3 separate regions of the Homo sapiens genome follow, and all the other regions are linked to region 2. The links are contacts of gene promoters, found by promoter capture Hi-C in human tissues and cell types (Jung and others, 2019). All regions are on one chromosome and are shown on one strand. Each heading gives the region's core, a stretch centred on a gene start or on the middle of the fragment in contact. The rest is flanking DNA. Distances are from core to core; before and after follow the strand shown. Region 1 overlaps RIN1 (Ras and Rab interactor 1). Region 2 holds the start of FOSL1 (FOS like 1, AP-1 transcription factor subunit). Region 3 has its middle 10 kb from the start of SLC29A2.

Region 1 (4,231 bases), core at 1,652-4,151, 430 kb after region 2:
GCAGGGTCCCAGGGACCCACCACTGGGTGCTTTCCTCCTAGCAGCAGGCTGGGAGCACTGAGTCCCCTGGGTCCTCCGCCTCAGCAGAGGGGACCCTGCACGTGGCCAGGAATGAGGTGCGCTCTGCCCCCTGGTGGCAGCAATGAAGGATGCGCCACCCTGCAACCCAGGAAAGCGGAGGGACAGTTTAGGCTGCGTCTTTCCGAATCAGTCATTCCACATAGATTCACAAGTGCCAGTTCCGGCCCGGCCATTGTTCAAGGCCCTTGAGATTTAACTGCGAACAAGGTGGGGGTGGCTCTGGCATTCTAGTGAGGGAAACAGACAATAAACTTGCATACAGAACCACCGTGACTTTAGGAGTGATAAGGTCAATGCTTCCAAGTAAGGAAATGACCCGACTGCTCTTTCATAGATCCAAACGTCAGAGTTCCAGTCTTGCCCTGCAGCAGCGGACGCTGGGCCAGGCATGTCACCTCTTGGAGCCTTGGCTTCTTTTTCCATAAGGACAAAGGCTGGGGAAGGGGTGGCATGGAATCCCTAGGACACAGTGAGCTTTCAGTTACCACCCAGATCACGCCATGCAAATGGAGAGATGTGACCTATTTCCCTTTGGCTGGAGCTGGGGGCGCTTGGTGCTTGGTCTATAACAGACACTTCTGTTGTTGTTGTTGTTGTTTGATTTTTTTTTTTGGAGTCTTGCTCTGTCGCCCAGGCTGGAATGCAGTGGTGTGATCTCAGCTCACTGCAACCTCCACCTCCCAGGTTCAAGCAATTCTCCAGTCTCAGCCTCCCAAGTAGCTGGAACTACAGGCGTGAGCCACCTTGCCCAGCTAACTTCTATATTTTTAGTAGAGATGGGGTTTCACCATGTTGGCTAGGCTGGTCTTGAACTCCTGACCTCAGGTGATCTGCCTACCTCGGCCTCCCAGAGTGCTAGGATTACAGGCCTGAGCCACCTTGCCCGGCCTATAACAGATGTTTGATAGATGTGCTGAGTGGACATATAAATCAGCCCCTCTGCTTTGAAGGACTACAGAACCTGGTGTCTGAGCCCTTTGTCCTGTAACAAGGCACTTTCCCTGAGCAAGTCTGAGTTTTCTCATCTGTAAAATGGGGCTAGTGAGACTGGTCTTACACTGGCCTATCATTGTCTGCCTTGCCTGGAGGCTCTGCCCCAGGATCATAATCTTGTTGATGCTGATTTGGCCTGGACCCCTGACCAATCAGTTTCTTTTTTGTTTTCTTTTCATTTCTTTTTTTTTTTTGAGATGGAGTCTTGCTCTGTTGCCCAGGGTGGAGTGCAGTGGTGTGATCTCGGGTCACTGCAACCTCTGCCTCCCGGGTTCAAGTGATTCTCTTGCCTCAGCCTCCCCAGTAGCTGGGACTACAGGTGTGTGCCACGACGCCTGGCTAATTTTTGTATTTTTAGTAGAGACGGGGTTTCACCATGCTGGCCAGGCTGGTCTTGAACTCCTGACCTCAGGTGATCCACCGGCCTCGGCCTCCCAAAGTGTTGGGATTACAGGCGTGAGCCACCAGGCCCAGCCCAGAGTTTCTTGAGAAGAAAAACCACAAGACCCAGGCAGCAGCTCCCTGTGGTGCCCCATCACTGGGGAGGGCAGGGAGGGGGTCAGGTCATGCTGAGCCTGGCAAGGGTGGGAAGGGCTTGTAGAGGCCCCAGAGCCTCATTCCCATGAGGCCAGTTGTACATCCGGCCCCTGGGATCCTCCGAGCACCCTCTACAAACATTCCAGGTCCTTCCTCTGGGACTGAGCTTGACACATCCCGTGTTTGATTCCCAGAACCGAGTCCTCCCTTATACTCCCCAGGTTTCTGCCTCACTGTCCCTCACTCCTGGTTATCAAACTCCAATCAGTGAACAACATTTATTGAACACCTATGGCATTTGTGCTCAGCATTGGACTGTGTGAGGCACTAGGGGTGAGTGGTGAAACAGGGAGGGGAATAGAAGAGCCAACGGGACACTTCCTATCAGCGAGAACCTTGGGAGGGCGTGGAAGTGGGGAGGGAAGAGCTGCTGGTGGCCTAGTGACAAAAAAAATGGGAGCCGTGCAACTGGGCTGTATCTGGACTGCTCATCTGAAAGTCAATGTCTGGCTGGGTGTGGTAGCTCACGCCTGTAATCCCAGTACTTTGGGAGGCCAAGGCGGGCGGATCACCTGAGGTCGGGAGTTTGAGACCAGCCTGGCCAACATGGGGAAACCCCGTCTCTACTAGTAACACAAAAATTAGCCAGGTGTGGTGGTGCACACCTGTAGTCCCAGCTACTCGGGAGGCTGAGGCAGGAGAATCACTTGAACTGGGAGGCGAAGGTTGCTGTGAGCCGAGATGGCACCACTGCACTTTAGCCAGAGCGACAGAGCAAAACTCCATCTCAAACAAACAAACAAACAAAAAAACCCAAAAAGCCAATGTCCACGATTTCTACCTCCCAGTTGTCATGTCTGACATTTGGGCTGACGTCCCCTCTGTGCTCAGTGCCCGAGGAGAGAGCCTCTGGGGTCATCCTCCATAAGGGGACAATTCCTTCCTTCCTGGGGATGGCCCCCAAGAGGCTGGCCTTACCCAGACCCCAGAATCTAAGGGACCTGGGGGCCAGTGGCCTTGGCCCCTGCGCTGTCCCCAGGTTGCCTGATGCTGCTGGACTGCAAGGCCCGGGACCCCCTCTGCTGCTGCAGCCTTGGAGGCGCCCTCACCCCTGGGTGGTCACCCTCTCGGCAGATTCCCGGGCCGTGCACACCCCCTCGTGGTTGGTGGTCGGCACTTTTCCTTGTTTGGATTTGCTGCCTGCTCTGGGCTTCCTTGGGGGCTGCCCCGGCCTTTGTGGGTGGCTTAGAATGGAGGGTGGAGTTGGAACCTGATGCCCTGGTTTGGGCGGGGGAACCCTTAAGGACTTGCTATATGACATCCTGGGAGTCACTTTCCTGACCCTCAGTGGGCCCAACAAGTCATGGCCAAGTAAAGCTTTTGTGAGGGCCAAGAGTTTAGTGCAGAGAGCATGGTTTCTGAGCCCCCTCTCCATTCTGGAAGCTTATCTGCCAGCTGGTGGATCTCCCCAGAGATGCTGGAGGGCCTGGGAGGACTCCAAATCTTGGGGAGAGACTGTAACTTGGGTACTTTCTCCCCAGGGCCTGATTTCCAGGGGAATAACCTCCCTGAACTGGGCATCAGCAGGTGGGAGCCCTGTCTGGCAGAGAGCGGACTCCGGGAGAGAGTTAGCAGCCCAGCTCTCTCCCTCCCTTTCTGCCATGAGCTCTGCTTGTAGCAAAATCACCCATTTTGATCACTGGGACACTTCTGGGAGCCGAGCAGGGCAGCAATAGTGTCCCCACTTTACAGATGAGAGTACTGAGGCTTGCAGGTGCAGGTCCTTCTGGTGTCCAGGACAGGGGTGGGCCCCAAGCCTTTGCTGCTGTTCTGTGGCCTCTCTAAATCCTCCTGACACCTAAGAGCCATTGGAACCTTTTAGGGTCTGGAAGTCCCAGCCTGGTGGGAGATACTTGGGTGGAGCCCTGCCTCAGCCATGCCCATGAGGGGAAGGGTAAAAGGAGCTGAGACCGTCACCCTCCCCACGTCAGAGGTTGGGCATCTGTCGGATTCGCCCCCACTTGGCACACCCTCATTGCAGGCTGGCTCACCCTCAGCTGGGGGAGAAGAACAAGAGGCAAGGGGCCTTGGGCACACAGTCTGGGGGCCCCCGAAGCCCCCTCATCTTTATTCCAGTTCCTCAGATGTGGCAGTTCCCCCAGCTTCCCTGGAAACAAGTATCAGACAAAGGTGGTGGCAGACACAGGACAGGGCCCTGGGTGGGGCTTGCTGGCGCTAAAAGGATTTCTCAGCAGGCTCAGGGTCTCCCGCCCCGAATGACCCTTCTGGCCACTTCAAGCTACTCCTCTGCTGCCCGGCTTCCCTCTGCCTCTGGTTCCCCTGGCTGAGCAGGGCCTTCCTGGGCTTGACCCTGGCCCCCTTCAGCAGTTGTCTCAGACTGTTCCCGAATGTCCCTGGGGCTGGCTTTGACCCCAGCATCCCCATCTCCCTGGCACCCTTGCTCCTCCCCTCTGCTTCTTGCCTCTGACTGCCCACTGCCCTCCTCCTCTGTCACAGCCCCCTGGGTCTCAGGCCACTCCGCCCGGCGGTAGACGAGGTAGCCAGTGGTGGGCAGCCTGTGGGCCAGGGCCCCAGGGGGCAGGCGGTGGTAGCCCTGCTC
Region 2 (4,006 bases), core at 44-2,543:
AACGTCCCTGTTCCCATTCTATCAGCCAGCTATCTGAGGAGTGGGTTGGGATGGGGCTCAGTGTTCTGGGAGAAGTGGGTTCTAGCTCTGCCGCTGGGCCCTGGGTGTGGGCGCCCAATCGTCCGGGAAGCGCCCACAAGCCCAGGCAAGTCCCGACAGCGGTAGCCCGAGCCCAAGCGCTGCGGGCCCGGCGTCCCAGTGACCCCAGTTCCGGGTCCGAGGCACCGCCGGCGGCATCTCCCACTCCCGGGCCCGGGCCGCTCCAGGCCAGGAAGGGAGGGACGCCCCGGGTGACTCAGCCGCCGTGACTCGGCCGCCGTGACTCGGCGGAACGGACGCCCCTCCTTCCCTCCCCTGTCGACACGTGCTCGCAGCCCCTCGACAGGAAATGGGCACCTGCAGCCTCCCGGGTGCCCCCCGGCGGGCAGCGGGCGCCGTTAGGGGCTGAGAGTGGGGTCGCGAGAGTCGCCCGCAGCCTGACCCCGCGCACGTCCCGGAACCTCGAGGTCTCTATTCGCCGCATTCGGCAAAGGGATCGAGGGCCGGTCTCCGGGGACCTGGCAGGTTCCACTGCCCGGACCCCCCTGGACTCCCCAGGCCGAGAAACGATAGGGACTTGGCGACGGAGGGGCGAAGGACAGACAGACGGACGGACACGCGGAGGGTCGCAGACCGGGCCGGGACTCCCACCCTGGCCCAGCTGCTCTCCCGACGGATCCCGCCTCCCTCCCGTGTGGGGACCCTCACCCCAGCCCAGACTCCAGATCCCAGGAATTCAGCCCGAAGCGGAGAGACCCTCCTAGCCTTCGAGGCGACCACCCTAGGCGCCCACGCCCCTTCTGAAGCAGGGTGGACGCAGAAGTCAGAGGTGGGCAGGAGGAGAGAAAGCGGGCACGGAGACGGAGGGACGGACGCGGACGGCGAGGGAGAAGGGGGCGGCTGGGAGAAGGGGAGTTCGCGGGTCTCTGCTGCCCGCTGCGCGGTGGGGGCAACTGGCCCCGGACGGCGAGGGGCAGGATCCTCGCCCCAGCCCCCAGCCCGGCCCCGACTCCGGTTCCCCGCTCCAGTCCCGGAGCGTGCGGGAGTTGACCCCGGCCTCCCACGCGCGGTCCTCCCGTGGGACCACCGGCGTCGGGCCCCACTCACCTGCTGGGCTGCCTGCGCTGCGGCCGGGGGCTGCGCGGGGCCGCCGTACCCGCCGCCGTTCCCGGAGCTCGGGCCGGGTTCCCCGAAGTCTCGGAACATGCCCGGGGCTGGCGGCTCTGCGGGGTACACGGCTGCTGGGTTCTGACTCACCCGCGCCGTGCGGAGTCTTTTCTTTTTATGAATGAAAAGTTCTCGGGCTGAACCACTGCGACCGCGGGGGGTGGGGGCGTTGCAGCGGCGCGGTCACCTCCAGGCTCCACCCCCGAGACGCGCCGCCTTGGCCCGTCGGTCCCGAACTTGGCGACGCCTCCCCAAGTCCGGCTGCAGCCTTTTCACCGGGATGGGCCCGGCTCGGCGTTCCCCGGAGGCTGCGGGCCCGCCCCCCTGACGTAGCTGCCCATACATGGTGTAACTTCCTCGCCGCGCCCAGGTGGAGCCCCGGGTTCCCCTGCGGACTGACGCACCTGCCAGAGCCCGCGCCCCGCCCCAGCCCTCTCGAGGCCTGGGCTAACCTCCGTTTCTGCTCCCACAAAATAGCACGAAAGAATCACATCTCTAGGAGCCACGCCAACCGCCACCCAAAGCTTCGTGGAGTGAGGTCTTTCCACTGGCCTTGTTTTAAGGCTTCGAGTATATGAAAAGTGAATAAATGACAAACCAGGGTTACAAAAATGGTGGCATATTTTATTTTACTTTATATTTTTGAGACCGGGTCTCTGTCACCCAGGCTGGAGTGCAGTGGCTCGATCTCGGCGCACTGCAGGCTCAACTTCCTGAGCTAAAGGGATTCTCCTGCCTCAGCGCCCCCTCCAAGTAAGTGGGACTACAGGCGCGCGTCACCACACCCAGGTAATTTTTGTGTTTTTTGTAGGGATTGGGTCTCGCCGTATTGCCCAGGCTGGGTGGTATATTTTAAATGTTTGCGATAAGGTAATGCTTTGAACTAACCCCACATAAAATGCAATATAATAGTATTACTCAGGATAATTTCAGGAGCTATAACGAGTTTTAATTCAGGGCCACTACAGGTGTCCTGAGGTCTGATAAACGCCATCTTCATTACGGTCAGTGCCTTTCGGAGGCTTGTGGCCACCAGACTTGTTTGGAGAGTATGTCAAAGGTGAGTGAATGTGAGGCAGGTATCATCCTCATCTCTGTTTTACAGATGGGGAAACTGAGGCTGGGAGATGCTGAAATGAATTGCTTGAAGTCGCTAAGTGAGTAGCTGGCACAGGTTGCCAAGTCACAGCCGTGGGCACTCCAAGCCCAGGCTCAGCCAAGATTTTCAAAGCCCTTACACCTTCACAGACACCTTGTCGCACATCCAGAATGTTAGTGCTGGGCACCATCCCAAAGCTTCTCTCTGATTACTTCCATCATAGATGAGGAAACTGAGGCCCAGATGGAGTACTGAGCTGTCAGTTGTCACACGACTACAGAAAGAGGGCTGGGGCCAGGTGTGGTGGCTCATGCTTGTAATCCTAGCACTTTGGAAGGCCAAGGCAGAAAGAACCATTTGAGACCCCATCTCTACAAAAAATTATAAAATTTTCTGGACATGGTGGTACGCCTGCCTTGTGGTCCCAGCTGTTCTGGAGGCTGAGGCGGGAGGATGGCTTAAGCCAGGGAGGTTGAGGCTGCGGTGAGCTGTGACTGCGCCACTGCAGTCCAGCCTGGGGGACAGAGCAAGACTCAAAGTAAATAGATCAAGAGAGGGCTGGGCTCTCCTGCTTCTCCATCGGTCCTTCCATTTCATCAGCTCTAGCTTTGCCCTCTGGGCTACTTTCCTTGGGAACACAGGCCAGAAGCCTGTGGGTGCACTCAGGACTTAGAGCCAGGAAGTCCAGATTGCCCCTGGGGTTCTAGTCCCAGAGCTACCATTTTCTGTCTGTGTGACACTGGGCAGGTCACCTTCCTTCAACTGGGCCTCCCTGCTGATCTCACAGAGCTGTTGTGGGATCAAGTGAGATCACAGATGTGAAAATGCTTTGTAAGCTATAAAGTGTTATGCACTCAGAAAGTGGTTACCAGCCTGGTGCCTCTCCTTTGCCTTTGAGCGACCCAATGCTTGTCACCCTCTTGTCATCATCATCTCTGTGTGTGTGTGTGTGTGTGTGTGTGAGAGAGAGAGAGAGAGAGAGAGAAAGAGAGAGAGAAAGGAGAGGAGAGTGTTTTTGAGGCAGTATGATCCGTGGACAGAACACCCGTGCTGGGGTCAGACAGCTCTGGGGTCTGGGTTTGAATGTGGTTAGGCTGCTCACCAGTTGTGTGACCTAGGTGAGGCACACAATCTCTCAGAGCCTCTTTCATTATCTGTGAAATGGAGACATAATGATAACTATCTCAAGGGTTGTTGGAGGACACAAGTAATGTCACATGCTTAGCACAGCACATAGTAAGAATTTGACACATAGGCTGGGTGCCGTGGCTCACGCCTGTAATCCCAGCACTTTGGGAGGCTGAGGCAGGTGGATCACGAGGTCAGGATTTCGAGACCAGCCTGACTAACATGGAGAAACCCCGTCTTTACCAAAAATACAAAAGTTAGCTGGGCATGGTGGCCCATGCCTGTAGTCCCAGCTGCTTGGGAGGCTGAGGCAGGAGAATCGCTTGAACCCGGGAGGCGGAGGTTGCAGTGAGCCAAGATTGCGCCATTGCACTCCAGCATGGGCAACAGAGTAAGACTCCGTCAAAAAACAAAACAAAACAAAACAACCCAGGGGTGAGAGCCTTTGGGACTGATCACACATGAAGGCACTCACACAGCACATGTGCACACACACTGATACCTCAACTTCTTGGCAGAGCCCAAGCTGGACAGGTCAAGTGTGACACAGGTAACCAGGGGAGGGGTGACACA
Region 3 (3,999 bases), core at 328-2,827, 480 kb after region 2:
TCTGTCTCAAAAAAAAAAAAAAAAAAAAAAAAAGATTGACTTTTGAATATTAACCTGTATCCTCCAGCCTTGGTATAATTGCTTATTATTTCCAAAGCTTTTTTGATTCTTTCAGGTTTTCTACCTAGGAAATTATGTCATTAGCAAACAAAGACAGTTTTATTTCTTCTTTCCCCATCTGTATGCCTTTTATTTCCTTTTATTAACTTATTGTGTTGGCTAAAACTTCCAGTAGGATGTTGAAAAGCAGTGGTGAGAGGGGACATTCTTGCCTTGTCCCTGATCTTACCAGAAAAGCTTCAAGTTTGTCGCTATAAAGTATATAGTTAGCTGTAGTTTTTTTGTGGATGCTCTTCATCAAGTTGCTTTCTAACCCACAAAATGTCTATTTCCCATGATTCAACCTAATAACAACGTGGGAAAACATTCATTGATTTGTAGTATTTTGTGAACATTCTTGATGGCCAAGTATTGTCGATGAACAATGCAGTAACTTGCTGAGTGGGCGGGTCACGAGGTGAGGAGATCAAGACAATCCTGGCCAACATGGTGATACCCCGTCTCTACTAAAAATACAAAAGTTAGCCAGGCGTGGCAGCACATACGTGCCTGTAATCCCAGCTACTCAGGAAGCTGAGGCAGGAGAATTGCTTGAACCTGGGAGGGGGAGGTTGCAGTGAGCAGAGATTGCACCACTGCACTCCAGCCTGGCTACAGAGCTAGACTCTGTCTCAAAAAATAATAATAATAATAATAGAAATAAAAACCAAACAAGCAAAAACAAGACAAAATAAAAACCAACCCTCTTTGCCACTGCTGGAAGCGGTTGGCTGCATCACACCAACTCTTAACTCTGAACATTGGTAATTTAAGAGGAAACTATTCAGCATGTATGGGAAGTAATTAGGGTTGAAATATCATGATACTTGGTTTTTACTTTATATATTATATGTACTTTATATGTAATTATGTATTATTATGTTTTTTCATATAGATGGAAAAATGTTGCAAAATATCAACAATTGCCACCTAGGTTGTGGGTTTACGAGTGTTCATTGTGCTATTCTATCTTTCTGTGGATTCAAAGCTTTCTATGAAAAAAAGTTTAAAAAGTAAGAATTTCTCTTACTTTTCCTATTTAACCATTCGTCAGAAAGTGTTTTTTTTTTGTTTTTTGTTTTTGTTTTTTTTTTGAAACTTAGTCTCGCTCTGTCTCCCAGGCTGGAGTGCAACGGCGCGATCTGGGCTCACTGCAAGCTCCGCCTCCCGGGTTGACGCCATTCTCCTGCCTCAGCCTCCCGAGAAGCTGGGACTACAGGCGCCCGCCACCACCAGGCGCCCGGCTAATATTCTGTATTTTGTTTAGTAGAGACGGGGTTTCACCGTGTTAGCCAGGATGGTCTCAATTTCCTGACCTCGTGATCCACCTGCCTTGGCCTCCCAAAGTGCTGGAAAGAAAGATGTTTTTATATGTTCCCTAGCATTTTTTTTGAGATGGAGTTTTGCTCTTGTTGCCCAGGCTGGAGTGCAATGCTGTGATCTCAGCTCACCACAACCTCCACCTCCTGGGTTCAAGCGATTCTCCTGCCTCAGTCTCCCAGGTAGCTGGAGTTACAGGCATGCGCCACCACGCCCAGCTAATTTTGTATTTTTAGTAGAGACGGGGTTTCTCCATGTTGGTCAGGCTGGTCTCAAACTCCCGACCTCAGGTGATCTGCCCACCTCGGCCTCCCAAAGTACTGGGATTACAGGCGTGAGCCACCGTGCCTGGCCTTCTCCGGCATTTTAGTTGCACTATACCGGGAGCAGTTTCTCTGAATCATATTGCCTGACTCCTTAAACTTGTTTTTGTTTAATAACGTTGTTCATTGTATAGCTAAACCATAATGTTTTAAAGTAGTCCCCTATTGGCTGGGTGTAGTGGCTCACGCCTGTAATTCCAGTACTTTGGGAGGCCAAGATGGGAGGATCTCTTGAGACCAGGAGTTCGAGACCAGTCTGGTCAACATAGTGTGACCTCATCTCTTAAAAAAAAGAAAAAATGGCCGGGCGCGGTGGCTCATGCCTGTAATCCCAGCACTTTGGGAGGTCGAGGCGGGCGGATCACGAGGTCAGGAGATCGAGACCATCCTGGCTAACATGGTGAAATCCCGTCTCTACTAAAAATACAAAAAAAATTAGCAGGGCGTGGTGACTGGGGCCTGTAGTCCCAGCTACTTGGGCGGCTGAGGCAGGAGAATGGCGGGAACCCAGGAGGCGGAGCTTGCAGTGAGCCGAGATCACGCCACTGCACTCCAGCCTGGGTGACAGAGCGAGACTACGTCTTAAAAAAAGAAAAGAAAAAAAAAAGAAAAGAAAAGAAAAAAGAAAAAAGGCTGAGAGGCTGAGGCAGGAGAATCGCTTGAACCCGGGAGGTGGAGACTGCAGTGACTCGAGATTGCGCCACTGCACTCCAGCCTGGGCAACAAGAGCGAGACTCCATCTCAAAAAAAAAAAAAAAAAAGTAGTCCCCTATCGATGGACATTTACGTTAGATTGTTTCCAATCTAGAAAAAAGTACAAAAAGAAAAAAAAGCATAAAATAAACAAGAAACAAAAACAAACACAAAAATAAAATAGATGATTTCCATTCATCTGTTATTATAAATAATGGTGCAATGAATAACATTTGGGAGTTTATCTGTAGGTGAAATTCCTAGAAGTGGAAATGCTTTCGAGGATATATACAGCTAAATTTTTTTTACACCTGTAATTTTAATAGATGCTGCTAAATTGCTCTCCACAGAGATTGCACCAGTTCACAGTTCCACCAGCTATATATGTTGGTGCCTGTTATCCAGCCAGCAGGATGTTGTTAAATGTTTTGTTCTTTTTTTTTTTTTTTTTGAGACAGAGTTTTGCTCTTGTTGCCCAGGCTGGAGTGCAATGGCGCGATCTTGGCTCACTACAACCTCTGCCTCCCGGGTTCAAGCAACTCTGCCTCCCGGGTTCAAGCAACTCTGCCTCAGCCTCCTGAATAGCTGGAATTACAGGCATGCGCCACCACGCCTGGCTAATTTTTTTTTTTTTGTATTTTTCGTAGAGACGGGGTTTCTCAATGTTGGTCAGGCTGGTCTTGAACTCCCAACCTCAGGTAATCCGCCCACCTCAGCCTCTCAAAGTGCTGAGATTATAGGTGTCAGCCACTGCACCTAGCACTTTTTTTTTTTTTTTTTTTTTTTTTTGAGACAGAGTTTCATTCTTGTTGCCCAGGCTGGAATGCAATGGGCGATCTTGGCTCACTGAAACTTCTGCCTCCTGGGTTCAAGCGATTCTCCTGCCTCAGCCTCTCGAGTAGCTGGGATTACAGCAGCGCGCCACCACGCCTGGCTAATTTTTTGTAGTTTTGGTAGAGATGGGGTTTCACCAAGTTGGTGAGGCTGGTCTCGAACTCCTGACCTCAGGCGATCTGCCCTCCTCGGCCTCCCAAAGTACTGGGATTATAGGCGTGAGCCACCGTGCCCAGCCTAAATGTTTTGTTCTTAACCAAACTGTAGGTGGAAACTGGTATCAGTATAGTTTCAATTGGCATTAACCTTTTGCTGTGGGTTAGCAACTTTTAATAGTTAAATCATATAAAGTTGTCAGTTTTATAAGTCAAAAGTCAATATTGGCAACTTTATATATGGTTCAAGCTAATCTATTTAAAAGCCTCTTTTTCTGAGAACTGTTTCTGTTATTTGTCCATTTTTCTACTGGGTTGTTGCTCTTTTTGTTGCTTCTTAATAGTGAATGGCAAGAGGTCTTTTTTTTTTTTTTTTTTTTTTGAGACGGAGTCCCGCTCTGTCGCCCAGGCTGGAGAGCGCAGTGGCGCAATCTCTGCTCACTGCAAGCTCCGCCTCCCGGGTTCATGCCATTCTCCTGCCTCAGCCTCCCAAGTAGCTGGGACTACAGGCGCCTGCCACCACGCCCAGCTAATTTTTTGTATTTTTAGTAAAGACGGGGTTTCACAGAGTTAGC

Evidence for each region. The method cuts DNA at HindIII sites, captures the fragments that hold promoters and counts their contacts. A contact is called where the count stands out against the background at its distance.
Region 1: a contact is called between a fragment that was not itself captured here and the fragment with the promoter of FOSL1 in region 2, in 1 of the 25 tissues and cell types used here (lymphoblastoid cells).
Region 3: a contact is called between a fragment that was not itself captured here and the fragment with the promoter of FOSL1 in region 2, in 1 of the 25 tissues and cell types used here (dorsolateral prefrontal cortex).

What each region holds. Positions count from the first base shown.
Region 1 is chr11:66,328,366-66,332,596 of GRCh38, forward strand. It overlaps RIN1 (Ras and Rab interactor 1), which reads right to left. Exons shown (of 10, transcript NM_004292.3): 10 at 1,876-4,231. The coding sequence ends at 3,911. Among named protein-coding and RNA genes, the nearest start is that of RIN1, 6.0 kb to the right of the region's middle. The HindIII fragment of the contact is 6,220 bases long and covers 1-4,231 here.
Region 2 is chr11:65,899,095-65,903,100 of GRCh38, forward strand. FOSL1 (FOS like 1, AP-1 transcription factor subunit) reads right to left here and starts at 1,294. Exons shown (of 4, transcript NM_005438.5): 1 at 1,147-1,294. The coding sequence starts at 1,245. RefSeq lists silencers at 165-392, 358-477, 1,086-1,685. The HindIII fragment of the contact is 4,995 bases long and covers 1-2,116 here.
Region 3 is chr11:66,379,901-66,383,899 of GRCh38, forward strand. No RefSeq gene overlaps it. Among named protein-coding and RNA genes, the nearest start is that of SLC29A2, 10 kb to the left of the region's middle. RefSeq lists enhancers at 2,653-3,153, 3,154-3,654. The HindIII fragment of the contact is 5,232 bases long and covers 1-3,999 here.